Regions from separate parts of the Homo sapiens genome. Here region 1 is linked to region 2. Evidence: promoter capture Hi-C in 16 types of primary human blood cells and fetal thymus (Javierre and others, 2016). All regions are on one chromosome and are shown on one strand. The core of a region is centred on a gene start or on the middle of the fragment in contact, and the rest is flanking DNA. Distances in the headings are between cores, read along the strand shown.

The links. Contacts are between HindIII fragments. The CHiCAGO score rates a contact against its expected background, and 5 or more counts as called.
Region 1: a contact is called between a fragment that was not itself captured here and the fragment with the promoter of BCL10 in region 2, in 1 of 17 cell types (monocytes). The highest score is 6.4, in monocytes.

What each region holds. Positions count from the first base shown.
Region 1 is chr1:84,497,676-84,501,783 of GRCh38, reverse strand. It overlaps GNG5 (G protein subunit gamma 5), which reads left to right. Exons shown (of 4, transcript NM_005274.3): 4 at 3,236-3,459. RPF1 (ribosome production factor 1 homolog) reads right to left here. Exons shown (of 9, transcript NM_025065.7): 9 at 3,432-4,108. Among named protein-coding and RNA genes, the nearest start is that of SPATA1, 6.7 kb to the left of the region's middle. The HindIII fragment of the contact is 549 bases long and covers 987-1,535 here.
Region 2 is chr1:85,275,234-85,279,230 of GRCh38, reverse strand. BCL10 (BCL10 immune signaling adaptor) reads left to right here and starts at 2,599. Exons shown (of 3, transcript NM_003921.5): 1 at 2,599-2,935. The coding sequence starts at 2,879. It overlaps BCL10-AS1 (BCL10 antisense RNA 1), which reads right to left and starts at 2,873. Exons shown (of 2, transcript NR_045484.1): 1 at 2,434-2,873; 2 at 1,143-1,590. RefSeq lists enhancers at 2,299-3,001, 2,207-3,406. The HindIII fragment of the contact is 19,185 bases long and covers 1-3,997 here.

The DNA.
Region 1 (4,108 bases), core at 12-2,511, 780 kb after region 2:
ATAACTAGTCTTCTCTTTCTTTGCAGCACTTAAAAGATCATCCCATGCCCTTTCCTTTGGCCCTCCATTTCCAGTATTTTTCTGTTTTGCAAGGAAAGTGAGGATTCATGAAACTTGCTGACTTAGTAGCCATGAAGGCTAATCGTTTCTATTTTACCATAAAGAAGGTTAAGTAGAGGATTTAATAACCATAAAGAGGGTATAGGAGAGTTACTACAAAATCCCACTGCCGTAACAAGCCATGTGTTACTTTTTAGAGCATTGGCCTAATGGAGTCCCCAAGTACTAGTTTTGTTTTTGTGTACCTGGCAAATATTTAGACAGTTTTTAAAAAATCTGCAATGTTTATGGGGATAACTTAAAGTACTACCAACTGATTTGGATTAACTCTTGATGTTATTGCTCTAACTGAACCCAGCTGTAGAGCAGTATAGCAAAGATTGGGAATTGGAAATGCAAGAGAAAGTCAGATGTAATTGAGTAAGCCAGTGTGGTAGAGGCGTTTGGACTGAGGTAGAACAGACTTTATATTTTGTTCTCATTTGTTAGATTAAAGATAAAACATGAAGGAAATGCAGTATATAAGTTCTTGGTGGCAAACAGACAGTGGACTGAATTTCAGAGAATTAAAAACTAAAGACCCTGTTGGCTTTATTAAAGCATGCTTCAGTACATTAATTTGTGCCTTCCAGATCAAATGTCATGTGTACAAAATGTATGTTAATCTAAGAGATGTGACCAAAAACGTTTTGGATCATTTAAAATGTAACTGAAGGGTGCTGCCTTTTATAAATTCTTAGTACTTTAGTTAGGGAATGTACTCATTAGTATTGACCTATGAGAAGCAAACTTAAACTAATAGTACTTTTTTAAAAAAGATTTTGTATATGGCACACACCCCTTACTAACTTTCTGACTTCTCCAAAGTCCAGGAAGCTGCTTCCTAAAATACCTTGTTACATAGTTGTGCCCTCCTTAATTAAGCTTCCTAGACCTGGGAGTGTCCAGGAAGTCTGTATAAGTACATGTTTCCAGTAAATACAATGATTGGTTAAGATGTTTAAGTTTTTTGAAATACCAGGGGGAAAAAAAGCCCTTTGAAAACAGGTGTCATGTGCACAAAAATGCACATGAAGAAGTAATTCACTTTCATATTTAACAGTTTATTATAATATCCTTTGTTTCTGGTACTATTCATTTAATTCTTCATGGTAGTTTTTGGAAGTTTCATATTTTTATGGTTTATTAATGATTGTTTTTTTAACCTCAGTTCTTGTATTCACTTTACAGTGGTTTATTTTCATTTGAATAAAATACTGGGCAGCTGTTAATAGTTTTACTTCATAGGAATCTACAGATAAGTGTTTAAATGAATTGCTCAAGTTTAAAAATATGGCTGGGGGTAAGAACCCAGAAGGTAAAATAATGTCTATTAATCCCAGCAGTATAAGAAAACAGCTTTGTGGATATTAAGATTTGCAGCAGTTTGGGCTAGGAGAATAATAATTGGGCATCAAAGCATTGCTTCTCAAGCTTGAATATATGCAAATCACTTTGTTAAAATGCAAATTCTAATTCAGAAGGTCTGAGGTGAGTCCCTAGAACTTGCATTTCTTACAACTGCCCACCTACACTGATGCTGACAGTACTGGACCTACACTGAGTGGCATGAATGTAAAGAATCTACATTGGAGTTATGTATATAAATACAGTTTTATCACTGGAGTGCAGTGGCGCAGTCTCGGCTCACTGCAACCTCTGCCTCCAAGGTTCAAGTGCTCCTGCCTCAGCTTCCTGAGTAGCTGGGATTACAGGTGCACACCACCACGCCCGGCTACTTTTTGTATTTTTGGTAGAGACAGCGTTTCTCGAACGCCTGACCTCAGGTGATCTGCCCACCTCAGCCTCCCAAAATGCTGAGATTACAGGCGTGAGCCACCGTGCCCGGCCCTGTATTTCCTTTTAAGAGGAAATTTTACTATTTTTTTTGAGATTCCAGCTTTTGAAATTTTTCCTCTTTTACACAAAACAAAATAGAATAACACAGGATTAAAAACTGTTAATCAGTAGAACATGTATGCACAAAAAAATGCAGATAAGACGACAGGCTTATTGACAGTATTCGCCGTTTTTCATTCTGCCTTTTTTAAATGAATTTATTTCATTAAATACTCTTTGTAAACAAGATATTTAATGGTTGTACTAAACTATGATGGAATTATACTTCACTGAATATTTAAGTTTCCAAAATTTGAGGTTACAGTGAGGTGAAGATTTTGGTGAACATCTATATATACTTAGTACCTCTATTAAGTTTCTAGAAGTAAAAAGGAGTGAACGTTTAACATTTTTACAACGTTGTACTTGATATCCCCTGCCAATATAATACTTTGGCCTTCCACTAGAAACATGAGAATGTTTTTTCCTTGAGTCCTAACAAACCTTAGTCTTTTCTGTCACTATTTTAGGTGAGATTAAACATTTTTCACAGCATTCTGTTTATGCCTTTTCAACATTTTTGTCACAGACTATCTCAGATTAACACTTTTGTACCTTTCCATATCAATAACTAATCCTAAAGTTAGTATGCTCATGTTTTAATTTTTTAGTACACTGTTTTTCAATTTAATGTTTTCATTTTTTAAATCTTTTAGTTTATACTCTATTAAACTGAAATATTATGGTTTGAAAACATAACTTATTTTTTAAGGCATAACTTATAATAGCTTTGTATTCCATCATATGTAGAAACCTTCGTTTATCCATTCTCCTACGGAGTTATATTTAGGCTGTTTCAGTTCTTTGCTGTTAAAATACTAATACAGTCAGTATCCTTGTACATGTTTCTCTATGTCTGGGTTTATCTAGGTAACTAGAAGTGTGGTTGCATCCTTTACTTCACTAGATACTGCCAAACTGCCCTGCTAAATATAGTCTTGCTCATTTTTCTAAGGATGTTTGGATTTTTGATTTAAGAGAGTTTTATTAACCTTTTTTATTATATACAGAATGTATTTTGGCAGTAATCTTAGCAAGTTAATCTGTAAGTCTGTTTATAAAACAGGAATGACTTATACATCAGAGTGGTTGTGAAAATTAAGGGAAAGATTTTACTGTTACTGGACCATAGGCATTTCCCATCCTGCTTCTTTTAAGTTATTCATGAAAAAAATTAAAAACTATGTTCTTTGATACTTTACCCTAACTCACCTTTTTTTTTTTTTCCCCATCTTAGGTTTCCCAAACCACTCCTTATGATCCAGTGAATATTCAAGAGAGCTACATTTGAAGCCTGTACAAAAGCTTATCCCTGTAACACATGTGCCATAATATACAAACTTCTACTTTCGTCAGTCCTTAACATCTACCTCTCTGAATTTTCATGAATTTCTATTTCACAAGGGTAATTGTTTTATATACACTGGCAGCAGCATACAATAAAACTTAGTATGAAACTTTTATTTTGCATTATTATTGGTATTAAATACATGGTATATTAATCTGTTCTGAACACCTGAAGGGGTTAAGTTTGTACAGTTTTTTCCACCTACTCTTCTCACATGACTTTATGCCATACATCTGGCAAGACTGCTAGGGAATTAAAGGTAAACTGTGAACCTTTATTCTTTTAAGGTCAGGAGGAGGCTGTTAAGTTCTACGGGTTTCCATCCATGAGTTACTTATAGGGTTAACTTTGTTTCAGTGCCTGAATGGAGTACTACAGCACCATGTAATGAGGTAAAAAAGAGCTCCCCACAACGTGGGCACAAAAAACCAAAAACCTCAAAATCAGGAAGCAAAGATTAGCTTCAGTAATTTGCAACTTTGCTTTAAACCCTGGTAGATCATTTTGCTTTAAATTTTTTACCCTTCTGAAGGCTTAAGAGAATGTTAAAACATCCAGAAACCTGGCCTCCATTTAAGCTATTAAAACTGTGCCAGACACTGGGAATCCAAGGTTAATCTGGTATAAAAATCAAGGGTTAGCCAATATTTACCAACCATTTTATTCCTCTCATGTGTTCTATGCAAATAGGAAAGTTAATCTGAATCTTGATTCCAACTTAATTATTCACAGTTACCCAAAAACAAGAGAACTAAGTTTAAG
Region 2 (3,997 bases), core at 1,350-3,849:
AACCACAACCTCCTGGGGCCTGGATATAGCAATACCTCCCTAAATGGTTTTCCCTCTTCCATCTTCTTTCCCCTTAGCACAGAAGTGAAAGTGCTTCTTTTCAAATCACAAATCAGATCATGTCACTCTGCTCAGAACCTTCCAGTGGCTTCCCGTCTGACTCAGCACACCCATATGACTCAACACACAAGGAGATCATCTCCTTCCAGTTACACTGAGCATTTTTATTGGTTGCTGACTGTACTCATAATGCTCTCTCCTTATATCCACACGGTTCACTCCCTCACTTCCTTTAAGCATAAATCAAATCCCTTATCTTGGTATTGACAAGACAAGGACAGACTCCTCCAAAGTGAGCAGGGAGGTCATGACCACCCTAGCTTAAATTTTACCAATCCATACAGCCTCATCCTACTTCCCTGTTTTATTTTTTCCTCTTAGTATTTATCATCTTCTAATAAATTAAATAACTTAGATATAGCCAGGCGTGGGGGATCATGCCTGTAATCCCAGCACTTTGGGAGGTTGAGGTGGGCAGATCACCTGAGGTCAGGAGTTCGAAACCAACCTGGCCAATGTGGTGAAACCTTGTCTCTACTAAAAGTACAAAAATTAGCTGGGCGTGGTGGTGTGTGCCTGTAGTCCCAGCTACTCAGGAGGCTGAAGCAGGAGAATCGCTCGAACCCGGGAGGCAGAAGTTGCAGTAAGCTGAGATGGTGCCATTGCACTCCAGCCTGGGAAACAGAGTGAGACTCCGTCTCAAAAAAATAAATTAATTAATTATTTTTTTAAAATAACTTAGATATAGCCGGGTGTGGTGGCATGCGCCTGTAATCCCAGCTACTGGGGAGGCTGAGGCAGGAGAATCACTTGAACCTGGGAGGAGGAGGTTGCAGTGAGCAGAGATCGTGCCACTGCACTCCAGCCTGCGTGACAGAGCGAGATTCTGTCTCCAAATAAATAAATAAATAAACTTAGATAAAATTTTTCAAGTGCCTACCTCGTCTGCCCCAAACACAAATAAACTAGAATATAAATTCCATGAGGAAAGAGATTTTTATTGGTTTTGTTCACAGCTGTTTTCCTAGCACCTAGAACAGTGTCTGGCACATAGTGGACATTCAAAACACATTTGTTAAATGAAAGGATTCATCCTAAAGTTAAGGATGGTTCAGTAAATCGGATGGAAGATGATGAAAAATTAAGCAATTAGAAAAAAACTGTCCTTGTGTAATGTGTCAACATGGAAACAGGACATAATGTAAACATCAGAATCCCTTGCTGTGATTCTGGTTTTTGTGGCTCTGGTTACATTGTTTTTTTGTGTGTGTTTTTTTTTTTTTTTGCTTTCCCGTTTCTTAAACATTGGCGTTCCCAAGTTTCTCCTTGGTCCTCCTGTCATTTTTATCTACTCTCGTAGCTTCAAATACCATCTAGTTTATAGTTTATTTAGCATGTTGTCCAAGCCACCGTCTTGGGCCCAGGGCTCTACCTGTAGCTTTTCATCCACACTTCTCAGGTTGCTTCTTACACAGCGCCATAGTAGTTAAAATACGGTCTGGGGATAGTCGTCTCTTCATCAGTCTCCCCCTATAAAATGGAGGACTCATAGTATAAGTTGCCTAGAACATATTAGTAAGGACTCAATAAATGTTTGAGTAGGATGAGCTGGGTGGCTCATGCCTGTAGTCCCTGCACTTTGGGAAGCCGAGGCGGGTGGATGGCTTGAGCCCAGGAGTTTGAGACCAGCCTGGGCAACATGGCGAAACTCCATCTCTATAAAAAATACAAAAAAACTAGCTGGACTCCCAGCTGCTTGGTGGCTGAGGTGGAAGGATCGCCTGAGCCCTGGAGGTGGAAGCTGCAGTGAGCCGAGAATCGCACCACTGCACTCCAGCCTGGGCGACAGAGTGAGATCCTGTCTCAATAAATAAATAAATAATCAGTTGAGTGCATACTGTGTGCCCAACTACCTTTAAGAACTTTACATATGATCCCGGCAGCCCTAAAAGGTAAGCATATCTATCTCCATTACACAGATTAACTAATGAGGAAAAGCTATGTTTATAATGAACAGTGACCAAAAAGTATGCAAACGTTAAATGAGGTGTTAAAGTGGTGGGATTGTAGGTGGTTTCTTTTTTTCTTTCAAAAATTTGTTTAGTATTGTAGTTAGGCTGTTTGTGTGTATGCATGTGTATGTGTGTATGAGTGCGTTTGTGTGTGACCAAAACAGTAACTGGCAAACGTAACAACAGGAAATTGTAGGGCAGGGTCTGGGAAAAGGGGAGGAACCCAAGGTACTGACAAGCCCAGACCGGACTCCCCCGAAGTGAGCAGGCAGCAAAGGCTGAGAGTGCCAGCTGCCTGGGCACTGACGGACCCCACCCACGGAAACGATGCCTTATGAGGAAGCTAACCCGGGCCACTTACCGACGACCTGCGCAGGCGTGGCTTGAGGAAACGCCCGCTGTGGGCGGAGCCACCCGAAAGGCTCCGGTCGGGGGCGGGAACAGGATCGGCCCGCGGGCTGGCGTCGATAGGCTGCCGCAGAGACAGGGCGGGCTCTGCTAAGCGACGCGCCTCGCCGTGGGGCGGTGCCTGCGCCTGAGCCTCTACGAGAGGGAAGGAACGCTGCTCCGAGCTCCGCGTCGCGTCGCGTAGATTCGCGTCGCCGTCGACCTCAGAGGCGGGGCCGGAAGCGCTACGGTTTGACCCCCGAGTCCCTCTGTTCCCGAAGGGGCGGCCGTCTTTCTCCCGACCCGCTCCGCCTCCTCTCCTTCTTCCCCATTACCCGGAGGCCGAAGCCCCCAGCCAGGGCGGGGCGGCGCAGCCCGAGCTCCCGGACCCGGAAGAAGCGCCATCTCCCGCCTCCACCATGGAGCCCACCGCACCGTCCCTCACCGAGGAGGACCTCACTGAAGTGAAGAAGGACGTGAGTAACGCAGCTGTGCCCAGGGCGGGCGGGGGCGGGCTGCAGCCCAGCGGGAGACGAAAGCGGAAGCCTGGAGTCCGAGGACAAGGAGGATCCTCCAGGTCGGAGGAGCGGAAAGTCCTAGCACAGGAGGACTGTGGCGAGCCCTGCATCCGAGGGACCTTGGTGGCAGTGATCCTCCAGTGATCTGTCAATCCAGGTTTTACATCGCTAAACGCAGAGCTTGGGCTTTGTTGCCAAGTGGTGTTTTGATTCTTGCCCACTCCTCACCCATCTCCTCATGCTTTCCCCCCAACTGGGTTCTTGGAGATGCTTCGTTAGGGACTGGCGGCTCAGATTCATCCTTAAGTCAGGCTGCCTAGGCTGCTCACTCAGCCTAGAGCGAAGGCTGTACCAGGTGAAGGATCCCAAGCAGTGGACCAAAAATGTGAAGCTCTTTTGCATAAGGGGGCTTGAGGAAGCTCAACAGCTGAAAGCACAACCTGGAATTCCCCTAGTAAGCAGACGCCCACATATTTAAATTGGGGTTGGGGGAGTGAATACACGTAGCTGAGAATTAATGTACAGGTAAACGTCGAAAATATTCAGTAGCTAAATTATGCTCTTCTCGGATGGTGCAGAACCACATAAACCTTCATATTTATTCGTAACGAATGGCTTTGTTGAGATATGACATTCTTTTTCCTTTGCGTTTACTTGTTTTGTCAGATGAGACCTATATGAGTATCACTAAAATACTTTATCTGAAGTCAAATGAAAAACAGAAACTCAACATGAAACGTGTTCTTATTGAACACTGCAGTACTTTTACAAAGTCATTTTGATGAACTGGACAGGATGGCAACTTTTTAAATGTTCATCCACTTCAAATCCCTTCCTCTTCCCTGTAAGGTTTATTACACTGTACTCACAATTGGTGTGACTCACCAGCAGAAGGAAACTGGATATGACTGGGAGTTGTGCTTAGTTTCCTCATTCAACAGAGATTTATGGAGCACTTGCTATATGGAAAGCACTGGCCTTGGGTCTGGAAGGATACAAAAAAATGAAGATCAGTTTCCT